Regions from separate parts of the Homo sapiens genome. Here region 2 is linked to region 1. The links are contacts of gene promoters, found by promoter capture Hi-C in human tissues and cell types (Jung and others, 2019). All regions are on one chromosome and are shown on one strand. Each heading gives the region's core, a stretch centred on a gene start or on the middle of the fragment in contact. The rest is flanking DNA. Distances are from core to core; before and after follow the strand shown.

Evidence for each region. Contacts are between HindIII fragments. The study calls those that stand out against the background at their distance.
Region 2: a fragment that was not itself captured here is called in contact with the fragment with the promoter of RPS14 in region 1 in 1 of the 25 tissues and cell types used here (mesenchymal stem cells).

What each region holds. Positions count from the first base shown.
Region 1 is chr5:150,444,935-150,452,748 of GRCh38, reverse strand. It overlaps RPS14 (ribosomal protein S14), which reads left to right and starts at 3,010. Exons shown (of 5, transcript NM_005617.4): 1 at 3,010-3,046; 2 at 5,014-5,164; 3 at 5,786-5,947; 4 at 7,064-7,140. The coding sequence starts at 5,016. RefSeq lists enhancers at 2,622-2,941, 2,555-3,493. The HindIII fragment of the contact is 12,843 bases long and covers 1-7,814 here.
Region 2 is chr5:150,030,721-150,038,534 of GRCh38, reverse strand. HMGXB3 (HMG-box containing 3) reads right to left here. Exons shown (of 20, transcript NM_014983.3): 10 at 7,696-7,794; 11 at 5,932-6,081; 12 at 1,598-1,899; 13 at 1,008-1,135. Among named protein-coding and RNA genes, the nearest start is that of HMGXB3, 34 kb to the right of the region's middle. RefSeq lists enhancers at 2,939-3,148, 3,269-3,318. The HindIII fragment of the contact is 6,609 bases long and covers 669-7,277 here.

The DNA of each region.
Region 1 (7,814 bases), core at 1,761-4,260:
TTGGCTGGGTGCGGTGGCTCATGCCTGTAATCCTAGCACTTTGGGAGGCCGAGGCTGGTGGATCACCTGAGGTCAGGAGTTCAAGATCAGCCTGGACAACATGGTGAAACCCCGTCTCTACTAAAAATACAAAAAATTAGCCAGGTGTGGTGAAGGGCGCCTGTAATCCCAACTACTTGGGAGGCTGAGGCAGGAGAATTGCTCGAACCCGGGAGGAGGAGGTTGTGGTGAGCTGAGATCGTGCGACTGCACTCCAGCCTGGGCGACAGAGTGAGACTCTGTCTCAAAACACAAAAGATACAGGTTTTCATTACACATTTTAAAAATATATATATTGGGTCTCACTATCGCCCAGGCTGGAGTGCAGTGGTGTGATCACAGCTCACTGCAGCCTTCACCTCCCAGGATCAGGTGATCCTCCCAAGTAGCTGGGATTATAGGTGCAGGTCACCATACCTGGTTAATTTTTCTATTTGTTGTAGAGAAGGTGTTTCACCATGTTGCCCAGACTGGTCTCCAACTCCTGAGCTCAAGTGATCCTCCTGCCTCAGTCTCCCACAGTGTTGGAATTATAGGCGTGAGCCACTGAGCCCTGAAGTTTTCAACATACATTTAAAAATGTACTATTATCGGCCAGGCGCGGTGGCTCACATCTGTAATCTCAGCACTTTGGAAGACCGCGGGGGCTGGATCACCTGAGGTCAGGAGTTCGAAATCAGCCTGGGCCAACATGGTGAAACCCCGTCTCTACTAAAAATACAAAAAAAAAAAAAAAAAACTACCCGGGTGTGGTGGTGTGTGCCTGTAGTCCCAGCTACTAGGGAGGCTGAGGCAGGGGAAGGCAACAGTGAGACTCTGTCTCAAAAAAAAAAAAAAAAATGAATAAAAATAAAAATATGCTATTATCATCCCATTTCACAGATGAGAAAACTGAAGCCCAGAGAGGTTACAATTTTTGCCCAAAGAACCATAGCTAATAACTGCAGAAACAATAAATATGTTGATTAAATAAAGTGGAGTTTGAAAGCAGTGACTTTGATGGTTTCTGGGATAAAGATAGGCTTCCCTGTGGAAAAATTTGTCCTGAGGTGATTGTGTGGGCTGCCTTCAGCCATAAGATCAAGGCTTGCTCCCTCCATGAAGCCACATGAGGTTTGGAGGTCTGTTTAATACAACTCTTAATCAAAGCGGAACTCACTCCACAATACTCCAGTCTCTGCTAACATACTGGGAAGCTCATTAAAACAAAAAAGCCCTCTCCTTCAAAAAATACAGACATTTCACAGAAGAGATGCAAATGGTTAAAACAATCCGTAAAGAGATGTCTGACGTCACTCATCATCGAAGAAATGCAATGCAACGAGAAGGTATGTTGAGGCTGGGTGCATTGGCTCACGCCTATAATGCCAGCCCTTTGGGAGACCGAGGCGGGTGGATCACCTGAGGCAGGAGTTCGAGACCAGCCTGGACAACATGGTGAAACCCCGTCTCTACTAAAAATACAAAAATTAGCCGGGTGTGGTGGCGCACACCTGTAATCCCAGCTACTCGGGAGATGAGGCAGGAGAATCACTTGAACCCAGGAGGCGGAGCTTGCAGTGAGCCAAGATGGCGTCACTGCACTCCAGCCTGGGCAACAAGAGCCAGACTCCGTCTCAAAAAAAAAAAGAAGGTATGTTGAGTTTTTCAGTTTAGCAGAATAAATTTTTTTTTTTTTTGAGACAGGGTCTCGCTGTGTCACCCAGGCTGGAGCCACGGGATATATTTATATATTTAAAATATATTTATAATATTTATATAGTATGTAATACAAAAATACTATATATATTCCATATAAATATTACATATAGTACATAGATAAAATGTATCTACCGCTTGCCTAGCTCTGTGAGGTACACTTCTTGGCCCTTCCCCACAGCTCCGACATATTCTCCCAAGCCTTCAAGGTCCTTCAATATTGTTATTAGAGGCTGGGCACGGTGGCTCACGCCTGTAATCCCAGCACTTTGGGAGGCCGAGGCAGGTGGATCACGAGGTCAGAAAATCCAGACCACCCTAGTCAACACGGTAAAACCCCGTCTCTACTAATACACACACACAAAAAATTTGTCGGGCGTGGTGGCACGCGCCTGTAGTCCCAGCTACTTGGGAGGCTGAGGCAGAATAGCTTGAACCTGGGAGGCAGAGGTTGCGGTCAGCCGAGATTGCGCCACTGCACTCCAGCCTTGGCTACAGAACAAGATTCGGTCGAAATATATACATGTATATTGTTATTAGAGGGCTATGTGGAAGTAGCTATTAAACACGAGGGCTTTGAAGCTAGAATTCCAAACCCTTCTGCAAAGGTGTGCTCTCAGTTAACATCCTTTATCTGTAAGAGGGAAATCAAAATTATTTGATAATGTCTTGAGGAGTAAATGAAGCAATGCATATAAACTGTTTAGCCCAGACCGGTCTGAAAATACATATTGAATAATTTATTCTTATTTTGCCCATTATATAATATGCCAAAGTAAGTGATTACGGTGTGTTTTCCCCGACTATGTTGCCTAGGCTGGCCTCGAACTACTTGGACGAAGCGATCCTCAGCCTCCTGAGTAACTGGGACCACAGGCCGGCGCCACCCTAGCTTTAATTAAGGCCGTTTTGTTGTTGTTATTCCCCTGCTCCACACAAGGGGCGCTGCCGCTCCAAGGCTGCCAGGGCGGGAGTCAGGATGGCGGAAGTCTGTCTAGCCACGACCACCGCCATCATGGAATACAGGCCCACCTCACCCCGCGGGTGTAGCCGCTTCGTACTGTCGCTTAGGCCGACCCGCTCGCAGCGACAACCAGCCCTCTACCTCTTTTCGCTCTCCCTTAAGTAATAAACCGTCTTTCCTTATGACGAGTCTTAAACTCTTTGGGAGGAATAATGCCGGCGTCTTCCGGAACCCGACCTCGCCCCGTGACCTCAGAGGTATACTTCCGGGACACGGAAGTGACCCCCGTCGCTCCGCCCCCTCCCACTCTCTCTTTCCGGTGTGGAGTCTGGAGACGACGTGCAGGTAGGAGGCCCGGGCGCGACAATCGGGGGGCATCCTGCGGCGAGGGGACCCTGTGGGGCTTGGGACGAGAGACGGGGGTCTTTCCGTGGGAACCGAGCTAGGTGCCGGGCAAGAGACGCGCGGCTGGCCCACCTGGATCCTGGCCAACTCGGGATTGAGTTCGTTCCTGGTCTCAGAAGGCCCGTTTTGCTTTCAGGGAGGAGCTTGTGAAGTAAGGGTGAGTGCGGGTCCAGCCTTTTAAGGCCTCGGCCCCGCAATACGGCCACGGCCACGGCCGCGTTTGAGCTGCACAGCGTAGTTGAGGGAACCCGGGACAGACGTGGGCTCCCGCCTCTACCTCGCCAAACTTTTTTCTTGGTGATCGCAGGCCCACGCCTAATCTCGTTTGTTTCCTCGTTTGCAAAATAGGAATAACAATAGCACCGATCCCATGGGTTTGTAGTGATCATTCAAAGAAGGAAAGCAGGGAAAACTCTCGCACTATGTTGGATGCTTCTAAATCTGGGCGATTCTTTCCGTTGCTGAGTCGGGCACGTTGCAAGTTCTGGGCGCTCAGGGCCCAGCACCAATGTTTGCTGTGCGCTTGCCCTGCGTTTATATACTCCTGATGACCACTCTGCTCGTTACTTTAGGGGATGTTAGGAACGGAGAAACTGCAAATTGGCATTTACTGAATGGCCATCATGCCGAAACATACTCATGCTTACGTATTTGAGATATGCTGGAGCCTTTCTATGCTTCTCGAGGCAGAACTTTGGGCTTCTCTCCTGTGGCGCGTTCCTTACAATAGTTAACGCACTGGGTCGTGCTCATTGGTCTGATTTGAAGATAGGAACATTTAACTTCGTACACCCAAGACTTACACTTGAAGTACTTACTGTGGTCACACACTTAACTAAAGTTTATATAGGGAAGGCAGAGGAGAGATCTAGGAACACCTGAGACAGACTAGGGTAGTTATTTGTGGTGTAGAGGCATCTTGGCAGGAGGCAGAGAGTGCTGGGCTGGGAGTCAGGACACGTTGTTTCTATGTTTGGTTTTGCCACTGTCTTTACTGTGACCATAGGCTGAGACACTCTCTATCTTCACCATCTGCAGGATATCGATTAGTGTTAGTGTCTTCTGAAAATGTTAAATTGTTCTGAACACCAGGAGGTTCAGAAGGCCTGGGGCTTTAGGCCGGAAGCAGTCTTATCCTAGCCTTCCACTTTCTCATTCATTCTCACCCGCCTTCCTCCTGTCAGTTTCTCTCTCCCTTAGATCTTGTGACAGTATGATTGCAATTATTATGAAGGTCATAATAGGTTAGAGTTATTTAGTCTCAGGACCCATCAGATTTCTGAGATGGGTCTTTTCCATTAGCCTGCCTTTTGGATATATTTTAGTGCCTTTGATATTTGATGTTGGTGACAAAGATTTAGTTCTAAATAGTTGTGGGAGTCAAATCAGTTGCATTTTTGAACATTTTGAAGGGATCAGGTGGAGCACAGGAAAACAGGAGATGAGAGGCTTGAGGGCTGTGTTGGTAAGGGTCCCTTGAATTCTAAGCTGAGGAGTTCATGCAGGAATCAAGCAGCTCCCTCGCCCCATGAAGGGTGTTAGGAATGGTACCAGTACATGGGTAGCTGTTGGTCTTGGGTTTCTTCTTGCCTTTTGGGGTGCAGCCTTCAGGCATCTGCTGCTAGATCCCTAGGCTTCTATCTTGTAGGTGCTGTGAGCTGAGCTGTTGGTAGTTTCTGGGGAAAGGATACTTCTCATGGTACTTTGCCATGTGGCCACAGTTGATACCCCCCCAAGTGCAAGGAGAAAGAAGTTTTAGTGAGGCAGAAATGAGAGAATACAGTAGAGTATTGGATGGAAGAAGACAGGGACATGAAGCAGGACTAGGGTTTCATTTAATAGCCAGGGGAAAGGGATTCTGGAAATGTTTTGTCTGTTAACCTTGAGTTTCTTTTCCTTCCACTCAGAAATGGCACCTCGAAAGGGGAAGGAAAAGAAGGAAGAACAGGTCATCAGCCTCGGACCTCAGGTGGCTGAAGGAGAGAATGTATTTGGTGTCTGCCATATCTTTGCATCCTTCAATGACACTTTTGTCCATGTCACTGATCTTTCTGGCAAGTGAGTACCTGGGTGGAGAGGCATCCAGCTGGCAAAAGGCTGAGGAAGGCAATGGCTGGGACGGGCTAGCAGTTCAGGGGATTCTCTCTAAAGAAATGCTGTTTTGTCCAGGTAAGAAAATGTGCTTGTCCATTTAGCCCACAAATATTGTGATTTCCCAGGGGTTACAAGAGAGGAGACACATTCTTCGTCCTTACAGCGTGATGGTCATTGAATCCTTGGTTTCTTGGGAATTATCTTCTTTCCCTAGTTCCCTTTGCAGGAGCAGCAGTGGACTGCAAGTGGGCTCTGGGTGCGGGTTCGACGGCCATTTAGCAAGTTGTGACTTGTGTGAAATCACTCAGATTCTGAGTTTTGGTTTCCTCATATGTAAAATTAGGACAGTAATGTCTACCTTGTGGAGTAATGGTAAGGATTAAATGCAAAAGTAGATATATAAAATGTTAATACTGAGTATAGCTATATTGGGCCATTCAACCCCACTGGACTGAACTCCATGAGGGCAGAGCCCATGACCATCATCCTCCACCATGACTGAGCTGTGTTGCTCTTCACTCATTAGGATATCGTAAGCACTCCTTGTTGGACGAGGAAGAAATGACCCTGTGCTTTTGTCCCCAGGGAAACCATCTGCCGTGTGACTGGTGGGATGAAGGTAAAGGCAGACCGAGATGAATCCTCACCATATGCTGCTATGTTGGCTGCCCAGGATGTGGCCCAGAGGTGCAAGGAGCTGGGTATCACCGCCCTACACATCAAACTCCGGGCCACAGGAGGAAATAGGTACGAGTCGCAGAGGGGATGGCTGGGTGGTAGAAAACCTGCTGGGCTTGGGTGCTGGAGCACCTGGATTTGAGGTTTGGGTTTTTTGTTGTGACCTTGAACAAGATATTTTAGGCATATACATACTTAATAATTGGCTCCTGTGTACACCCCCCAGCAGCTCAGTGTTGAGCACCCACTGTATACTAGGAGCTGTGTTTCAGGTACTAGAAGAGAGTGATGGGGAAACAGACATGGTCTCTACCCTCCTTGTGTGGGACCGAGGCTGGTGGGAGAGTCAGACTTTAAACAACAGAGCACCAGGGAGTATGTGGTTTTCATTTGTGACAAATGCCAGGAAGCACAAGTAAGGAGTTGGTGATAAAGTGTAATTTAAACTAGGGTCTAAATGATAAGTCCGGAGTCCTTCCAGTGAAATAAGGACAGGAGGAGGGTATTCCAGCTAGAGACAACTGCAGGGAAAGGTCTTGAGGTGGGGGTGAACCTGGGCACCTGTGAAGGAAAGAGTGGCATGAGGTGCAGTCAGAGGGGAAGAGGTGGAGTCCTGTAGGAGAGGGGAAGGACCTGGATTTGAGTGATGGGGGCATGAAAGCTGAAATAGATGACTGTTGCGTGAACAAGCCAGACAGTGGTCAGAACATAACAACAAACCATAGTGGCCCCCTCAGCCTAAAATATTTACTGTCTGGCTTTTTTTTTTTTCCTCTTTTTTGAGACAGGGTCTCACTCTCACCCAGGCTGGAGTGCAGTGGCGCTATCTCAGCTTACTGCAGTCTCTGGCTTTCAGGCTCTAGCAGTCCTCCCACCTCAGCCTCCCGAGTAGCTGGGACTGCTAGTAGTAGTGCCACCACGCCTGGCTAAATTGTGTATTTTTGTAGAGATGGGGTTTCACCATGTTGCTCAGGCTGGTCTTGAACTCCTGAGCTGAAGCAGTCCGCCCTGCCTTAGCCTCCCAAGGTGCTGAGATTATGGGTGTGAACCACTGTGTACAGCCCTGTCTGGCTCTTTACAGAAAGTTTGCAGACCTCTGAACTAGCGGGGTGTTGGGATCTTAGAAAGGAGATCTTCCATTGACTTGGCCAAAGGCTCTTCTTAACTTAAACCTTCATTTTCTAGGACCAAGACCCCTGGACCTGGGGCCCAGTCGGCCCTCAGAGCCCTTGCCCGCTCGGGTATGAAGATCGGGCGGATTGGTAAGTGCCCCCCTCTAGCTAATGCTTGGGTTTATTTTGAAGCATTGGCCCCAAAAAGCACGTGCTGTGCCCAGTGGATGTGCAGCGGCTGGTCTGGTCACTTTTGGCAGTTAAGTTTGTTAAGGGAGGCTGCAAGAGGCACCTTGTGACTTAAAAATCTCTCCCTGAATATCTCTGTCACCTTGATATGAATGTCCTGTTTCATTTGTGAATCTCTGTCCTACACTGCCTGGTGCAGGTAAAACTGACAAGAGATGAATTGTCCTTTCCTCCATTCTTGAGGTCATTGCTATTAGCATTTTGTGTGTACCATCTCCTGCATTGTAGGATGTTCAGCATTTTTGGTTTCCGCCTACTAAATATCAGTTGGGCATGCCAGTCGTGTGACAGCCAAAAATGAAGTGGGGGGTACCAGCTTCTGTTATTAATACCCTCAGGCCTGTGATCTCCTGGCTCCTTACAGCTCTTAGGAAGGGAACAGTAGTCTTTCCCTGCACATTGTTCTGTGCAGTTAGTAGCGACATACACTGACGCCCCAGGCCAAAGTTCCTACTGTGTCCTACTTGAAGGATGATTTTGTTTTCTTGAGACAGGGTCTGGCTCTGTTGCGTGGGCTGGAATTCAGTGGCACAATCTCAGCTCACTGTAAATTTCGCCTCGTGGGCGGATCTGTC
Region 2 (7,814 bases), core at 2,724-5,223, 420 kb after region 1:
GTAGTTACACCACTTAGTGCATCTGTCAGAACTTATGGAACTTGGAGCAACACACTTAACTACATGTAAATTTTAAAATACATGTTGACTAAATAAATATATAATCCTGAGTACTAGCCTGGATAGACAACAGGGTAATAGGCACTTTTGTTAACTGTTGGCAAGAGCATAAAATAGTACAAACTCAATCTAATAATATAAGACATTAAAAACATGAATTCAAAATAAAGCACCATTAAGTTCTAAGACAAAGAGAATACATCAAAAATACACTTTCATCTTCAGCACTCAATTCTACAAACAAAACTTAGGATTCAACCAAAGTCTTAAAATGGCTGGTACACGGTGAGTGTTCCACAAATGCCTGATGTTGATGAATAATAGGGGAGGAAAGGGTAAATGTGCAGCAATTCCACTTCTGAGTATTTGTCCAAAAGACAAATTAGGGCTGTACACAAAGACTGAATCACAAAAGTGTAAACTGGAGCACCATACATCCCTATAAAAATGGTCATGTACTTCTCTACTTGCTGGCACAGGAAGATGCCCACAATGTACCCCTAAGTTTAAAAAGCACATTCCAAAACAACATCTAGCACAACCGTACTTTTGTTCAAAGAAAGACTATAAACCTATACATCCTATAATTTCTTATATTCTGCACAGATGAATAAACATTTCTGGAAGATTGATCACACTGTTAAATAAGTGTTTATCTCATGGCAGTAGCAATGCTCTTGATTTTTTGTTTCCTCTTTTTATTTGTCTGCATTTTCCAGCCCTTCCACAATGAAGATCTGTTATTTTAAAGATCCCAGTTGAGAGCTTCAACACTTGAGAGGTAAAAGTCATCTTGTGGGACTAAGACATTTAGGAAGAAGACTCCCCCTTCCTCAGAAGCCCCATCTGAGAAGGCCCAGTCCTCAAAGGGCCAGAGGTCTCATCCATAGAGGCAGTTCCCAAGCCTGCTTTGGGATGCTCTGAGGGAAGAGAAGGTTGGCACCCACCTGTGTAGATGTCTATGAAGCTGTGCAGGGCCAGACAATGGGGGTTCAGACACATCTTCACCTGGGCAGTCACTGTCTGCAGACGGCTGGCTGTCAGCAGCCAGCACTCCTGGGGCCCAGCCAGGGAGCTAGTACCAGAAACATCACCAACAAAAAAAAAGAAGGGAAAGAGACTTCTTTATGGAGTTCCAGGGCTCAGTGATCAATGGCAAATTCTCATTTGCTGGAGCTTAGGATTTTCTAGGTAGGTATTTCCACTTTGTTGGAATCTGTGGAATCATCCCTACAATTAATGTAACTCTGAATTTATTACATAATTTAACCAATCCCAATGAACTCCCAAACCTAAACATTGTGTGGGGCAGTCCAGATGTAAACTAAATCCTAATCTGGTGATAACTTTCAGGCATTTCAACAGAAATGATAATTACCAATTATTACTTTACTTTCAGCAATCAGAAAGTTAAAGGAAGCCTAAAAACGGCAGAGAATAACATCTTCACAGTTATAGTTTTAATGTTTTCTGAAGAAAAGAGCAGTATGAGCCAAATGGGATGGGGTAGCTAGGGGCAGAGTTAAGGGGTGCTTACTTTTGTCCCCCTTTGAATAATGGGCTGCTACAGAGAAGGCACTGCGTGGACGGAGACTCATAATAATTCGACCAAGAGGTTTGCTCGATGGTGACTGTCTCCTCACTCACGTTGGACAAGATAAGTCGAGAGCTGTTGAGTTCATGAATCAAGGCGAAGACCTCAGCCAGCTCTGACTCATTCTCAGGAATCTGCAGGACTTTGCGCAGCAGCTGCAGTGTGGACTGGCGCTGGATCTCCCTCTGGGCTGTGCTCAGGGGCTCTGTGGCATTCAGTACATCTGGGAGTGGTGAGCTCACCTCCTGGGAAGAGAGTGGATTGATCACCAAGCACTCAGAGCAGAAAGAGCCAGCTTCAGGCTAAAATAATAAAAGTCTGGGAGCAGCAGACAGATGGGGCCCATGACTGATAGGTGGCAAACCTAGGTTCCTAACCAGCTCAGCTAATAACTCACTGTGTGACTAAAGGCTGGTTATTTTTCTCTGTGGGGCTCAGTTTCTCTACAGGTTGAGCACCCCAATCCAAAATGCTCTGAAATCTGAAATTTTTTGACCACTGAGACAACATTCAAGGGATATGCTCATTAGACATCTCAGATTTTGAATCACTGGATTAGGGATGCTCAAGCAGTATGTATTCTGCAAATATTGCAAATTATGAAATAATCCAAAACACTTCTGGTATCAAGCACTTCAGATACAGGATAGTCAACCTGTATCAGTAAATGAGAGGATTATATACAACTCTTGGTAATGGATTCAACACTTAGCTCTCATTCATCAGGTATGGGGTTTAGAGGATAACAGACCCAGGTTTCAGTTCTGGATATGCCACTTAACAGCTGTGTATGTGGGACCCAAGGCAATTTACTTAATCTTTCTGAGTCTCAATTTCCTCATCTGTGAAATGGGGCATAAAAATAGTAATCTCTTAGAGCCATTATACAGATTAAGTAAGATATTATAAGTAAAGCACTTAGCACAATGCCTATGGTGCAATGAAGGCTCTATGAATGATAGTTTTGATACATAAACAAGTATCTGCACTGCTTAAAGTTATCTGTCTTTAATTCTCGGTGGCTTCTGGGTACAAGGTAATTTTGTATACCAGTCAGAGGCTTCCAGGAACAATGTTCTGAAATACTCATTAAAAATAGGTCTTTCTCAAGCAGGTCTCTCTTCAATGGAGCTTCTCCCTGATCCTTTTTGCCAAGGCAGCATAAATCACTCCCCGCTTTGTGTTCTCTGAGTGCACCCCTTGACTGCAGAATTCATCATCTGACAGCTGCTAAACCACCACCCTCCCCGCTTCAGTAAGGGTAGGATTCTGCTTATTTACTGATTCCCAACCAGCATGATGCCTGAGACACACATAAGATACTGATTCATATGTGATGGACATATTATACATGGCTCTGTAGAAGTTAAATGCTTAATGCTATAGTTTGGATGTTTACCGTCTCCAAATCTCATGTTGAAATGTGATCCCCAACGTTGGAGGCAGGTCCTAAAGGGAGGTACTTGGGTCAGGGGGGCAGATCCCTCATGAGTAGATTATCGTGGGGCAGGAGCAAGGGAGGTGGTGAATGAGTTTCGCTTCCTTTTTCTGTATGTGATCTCTATGCATGCTGGCTCCCCTTGCCTTCCACCATGAGTGGAGGCAGTCTGAGGCCCTCACCAAAAAAGATGTTGGTACTATGGTTCTTGTACAGACTGCCAAATTATGAGCCACATAAACCTCTTTGCTTTATAAATTGCCTAGCCTCAGGTATTCTTTTATAGCAACACAAAACAGACTAGGACACTTAATAAGGAGCTTTTTATTAACTCCGCATACCTATGACAACTTTCATTTGTAATAGCTTGGTTATCTTTCTCTCCCACTAGACTGTAAGCTCTTCAAGGGAAAGGGCCACGTCCTATTCATCTCTGAAAGCCTGGCCCATAGCAGGCATTCAATATAGGCTGGCTGAGAGAATTAATTAATCAGTGGCTACAGAAGAGCTGACTAACACTAGAATGAGCTGCCCCGAGAGGCTGTGTGTTCTCAGTCATGACTATGAAACCACAGCTGGAAGACCACTTGGCAGGAATACTGTCCCGTGACTCTCGCCAGAGATGAAGGATAGAAAGGACTAAAGACCATTCCATCTCAGAGATGTGAAAACATCTGGCTACCAGGGGGCTCCAAATGACAACACACAAGAAGATCCCTGTGGTTCTGACCAGTGCTTTATTTTCTGGAAAGCAGTAATTACACTGTATTTCTCCAAACTTTAGGAGATTGGAAAGTGATGGAAGGTCTGCAGATGAGGGTCCTGGGGGTGGGCAGTTCTCAGTTAACCAAATACAGATGGATATAAGTTTAAGAGTGGGATTTGAAATTGGCAAGAGGTCCCTAGATAATTTCCTATGTCACCTGAGAAGTTAAGTTCCTTCATCATCCTAGATCTAGAGAGTAACACCCACTTCCACTGCAAACCGCGCAAATAGCTAAAATGAACTGGAAGGAGAAAGGAATGCTCAGAGCTTCTACCTACACAGAACTCAATTCTATCTCCTAATTACAGATAGACACACTTTGTATATGTAAGCTCCAGGGTTAGAAGGTGCAGGAAAAACAGACATACCTGCCCTAGAAGAGATTGTGGTCTCATAGGGAGTTAAGAAAAGCAGTCAATATGGGGTGTGATCAATGCTATGGCAAGAAGAGCACTTTGAAACCCACTGAAAATCCGGGAAGAAAGCTTACTTCCAGCAGCAGGCATCCAGTGGAGCAAGAGAATCTGATGAAAGCTACGGACCCATTTTGCATGCAATTTCAGGGATTTATAAACTCCTTAAAACTCAATTATCAGTCTTCTCTAAGGCTCCTGTCTCTTAAGAGTAAAATGCCCAGATCTAATCTACCTTGCCCACCTTACTTTACCAATGGAGAAACTAAAGCTCGGGAGAGGGAAGCTTCCAACTCAGGGTCACTCCCAGCCCCAGTGTTTTTCCCACCAAGCCATTAGTGCCCACATACTTTGGTTCCACTTTCCTTTCTCACAAGGACAATAACCTCAGAACATCACCTCAAGCACGGAAACAGACTCTGGAGACCAGGGTGAGATTCATCATCAAAAAGGCCTCTCTCCATATACAAATAAACCTCTAAGCTTGAAGCAGTTCTCCCCACCTCTGTAGTCCTGTCTACTCCCAAACTCTCATCCCATAAATTCCCCTCTTGAAATAACTTTCCTCTAGGCCTCTCCCCGGCTCAAGGACATTCAGTAGGACCCCACTGACTAAAGAACAAACTGACAAGACCTTCCATGACATGGTTCCAAGATGCTTTTCACGTCTTATTTTCCGTAACACCCCTTCTCCCACCCCATGCCCCCACGCCATCTCCTCCAGCCAAATGGAACACTCTTCATGTTCACTCACACTTATCCTTATCACTCACACTTATCCTTATCCATACTCACACTTCATGTTCACTCACCAGACTACAGTCTAGTGGGAGAGACTTAAGTATGGCATGCCTTCCCCTTCCATTCAAAACCTGCCTGCCTTTCAAGGTCCAGCCTTGATCTGGAGTGACCAGGCTCCATCTCAGGTCCTGACCTGTTCTGTGTGCCATCCCCTCTTTCCCCAAGGCAGACCAGTGACATTTCTCTTCTCATCCTTATTTTAGTCCTTCCATTTGCTGCCTCAAGTGCCACCATTTTCTGTTCACTTTAAAAAACTCATATGGAAATTCTGGGGACCTCTGAAAATGCCCATTTTTCCTGGTAATAGTAATAATAATAATAGCAGCCCTAAGGAGCCAAGTGGAATGTATTTTACTACCCAAGTAGTTTGGCCCAACTTCAGAGAGGAGGGCTGCCTAGACTGCTAGAAATAAAGCTTTGATTAACTAAAAGCTTTCCAAGGAGCCTGAGAAAGCAGCGGTGGTCTAATCTGCAAAGTCTCAGGTTGGCATTCTCTATTTACCGAAACAGTAAATCAACTTACAGGTCTTGTATCAGGCCTCAGCGGTAAGAGGATGCAACCCTTTCGTCCCTCTCCTTTCACTCCTACTTAAGGCCTGTGCTACATCATTCTCTGCAGTGAGTGAACTCTTGGTTCTCAGAGATCAAGATACCTAGTCAACCCCTTCACCCTGGCAATGGGGACAAGGAGGCTCAGAGAAAAGGCGGCACTTGCTCAGGTTCAGAACCCACCAACTGGTTCAGTTTGGATGCTCTAACTACCACCATGTACTTTAAAAATCTTCTTATTTCTACTAAGACAGGTTCACTAACAGAGCCCAGAACAGGCCAGGGGATGTGTTTGGGGGAAGGAACTCACGATAGCCTTGGTGGTTTTCTCAGTCCGGTCTTTGGCAAGGTTAACACCACAGCTGGGACAAATTCGAGGTTTGTGCCTGTTGGTGTAGACATAGCTACAAGAGGGATTCTTGCACTTTCCCCGGCCTCTTGATGTAGCCAGGCCCAAATCCTAAAAAAGTAAGACCAGTGTTCAATTCTACAAAAATTAAGTTAAACCTGGGCAGAACCCAGAACCAGAATGAGCAGCTGCCAGTAAATCAGAGAAGAGAGTGGCAACTGCAAACCAGATTCAGCCTAACTTCAAGAGCCTTAACCTTTTCTGCAGTTAACTCTTTTACTTTTAATACAGGCTGTAAATTTTTGGCAAATCCAGTCCAGTCCTTCCCTATCTGTGAAACAGGAGAGTTGACTCTCAATGGTCAGAAACTCAAATGCCTTCAGGGTCCAGGCAGTTGGTGGAGTAAAGCAGGTCTGTTTAAACAAAGAGTGCTTGAGACTGGTGAACTAAAGAGTTCAAGCCCTGCCTGAAGACAAACTGTGACTTACAGACTATTAAAGCTCAAAGCTCTAGCATCTAAGCTCCTATGACAAGTTACTATCTAATCAGCAGAAGAGAGGGTCTACTCAGGGGTAGTTCCCCCTAAATGGTAAATCTAGTTGCCTCCTGTAGCCAAAGGGAGTGGTGAGTGAAGGCATGGAAAAGGTAGTGATTATATTTAGGTCACAAGAGAAAGAAACCTGAGCAGATCTCCAGGATAAGAGACACATTCTCCTTATGGATCAGGTCAGGCCAGACATTAACCCATCACATTGTGCTGTCTTGTTTGCTACTGAATCCCCAGTACAGATCCTAGTACAGAATATGTGCTCAATAAATATTTTTTGAAGGAATGAATGACCCTTTCTGAACCTGTCTGCCATTATGAGGCAAGACTTTTTAAAAATCTAGCTGTTCTCTCAAAATCTGTTCATCTTAATCAAATCAGCTAGAGAAACTGCCAAAAGACATCTTGCTGGTTGATACTTTAAGCATCAACAGAATTAGAGAATGTTGAGAGTGACAGATGCCCCAAAGATGTCTAAACCAATGCAGCACTTTACAGATAGTGAAACTGAGGACCACAGAAGGAAAGAATCTTGCCCAGTGGCATATGGCATGCTAGCAGCAGAGCCAGAACTCCTTTTGGACCAGGTCTCTCAGCTGTCTAGCATTTATTTCCCTGCTCTATGCTGCCTGCCCTACAAAAGGGTGATCCCAATGTCACACATTTGTCCATTAGGACGTTAATATGTGTTATGTTAAAAATAAAGGGAAAACCCTGTGGGAAACACTAGGCTAAACAAAATAAGCTGCTTTACTAAAGTACTTCTCTATTTTACTTTAAGATACTCGTGTTGAACTGGACTCTGTTTTAGGGAGAAAAAGGCAACGTTGCCTAAATGTAACTGTGGAACACCCTTTCTAAGCTAAAAGGTTCCAAGACAGCTAAATGTTAAATCTGGACTAGATTCTCATCTCTGGCAACTCTCAATAAAAATACACTAATCTCAGCTGTCCTACACTTTATAAATCTCACCTGGAAAGAGACCAAAACAACCCAGCAGATTCATCCAGTAGCTATTATTTGCATCAGGGATGGGATCTTCATCATTAACAATCTATACCTGACCCTGTTCTCCCTCCCAGCTACCACCACCCTCTCCCCCAGCCTCCTACTGACCTTCAACCACAAAATCAAAACAACCTCCATGTCAACCCACCACCACCTAGCTGCATACTTACCAATGTGACAGTGCAGCTGTACTTATATGGAGGAAACATATCGGGCTTGACCTCCACAACTTTCACCTGAGAAGTCCTGTTGGATGGGCCACTTGGTAGCTGTGGATCAGAACAAATTA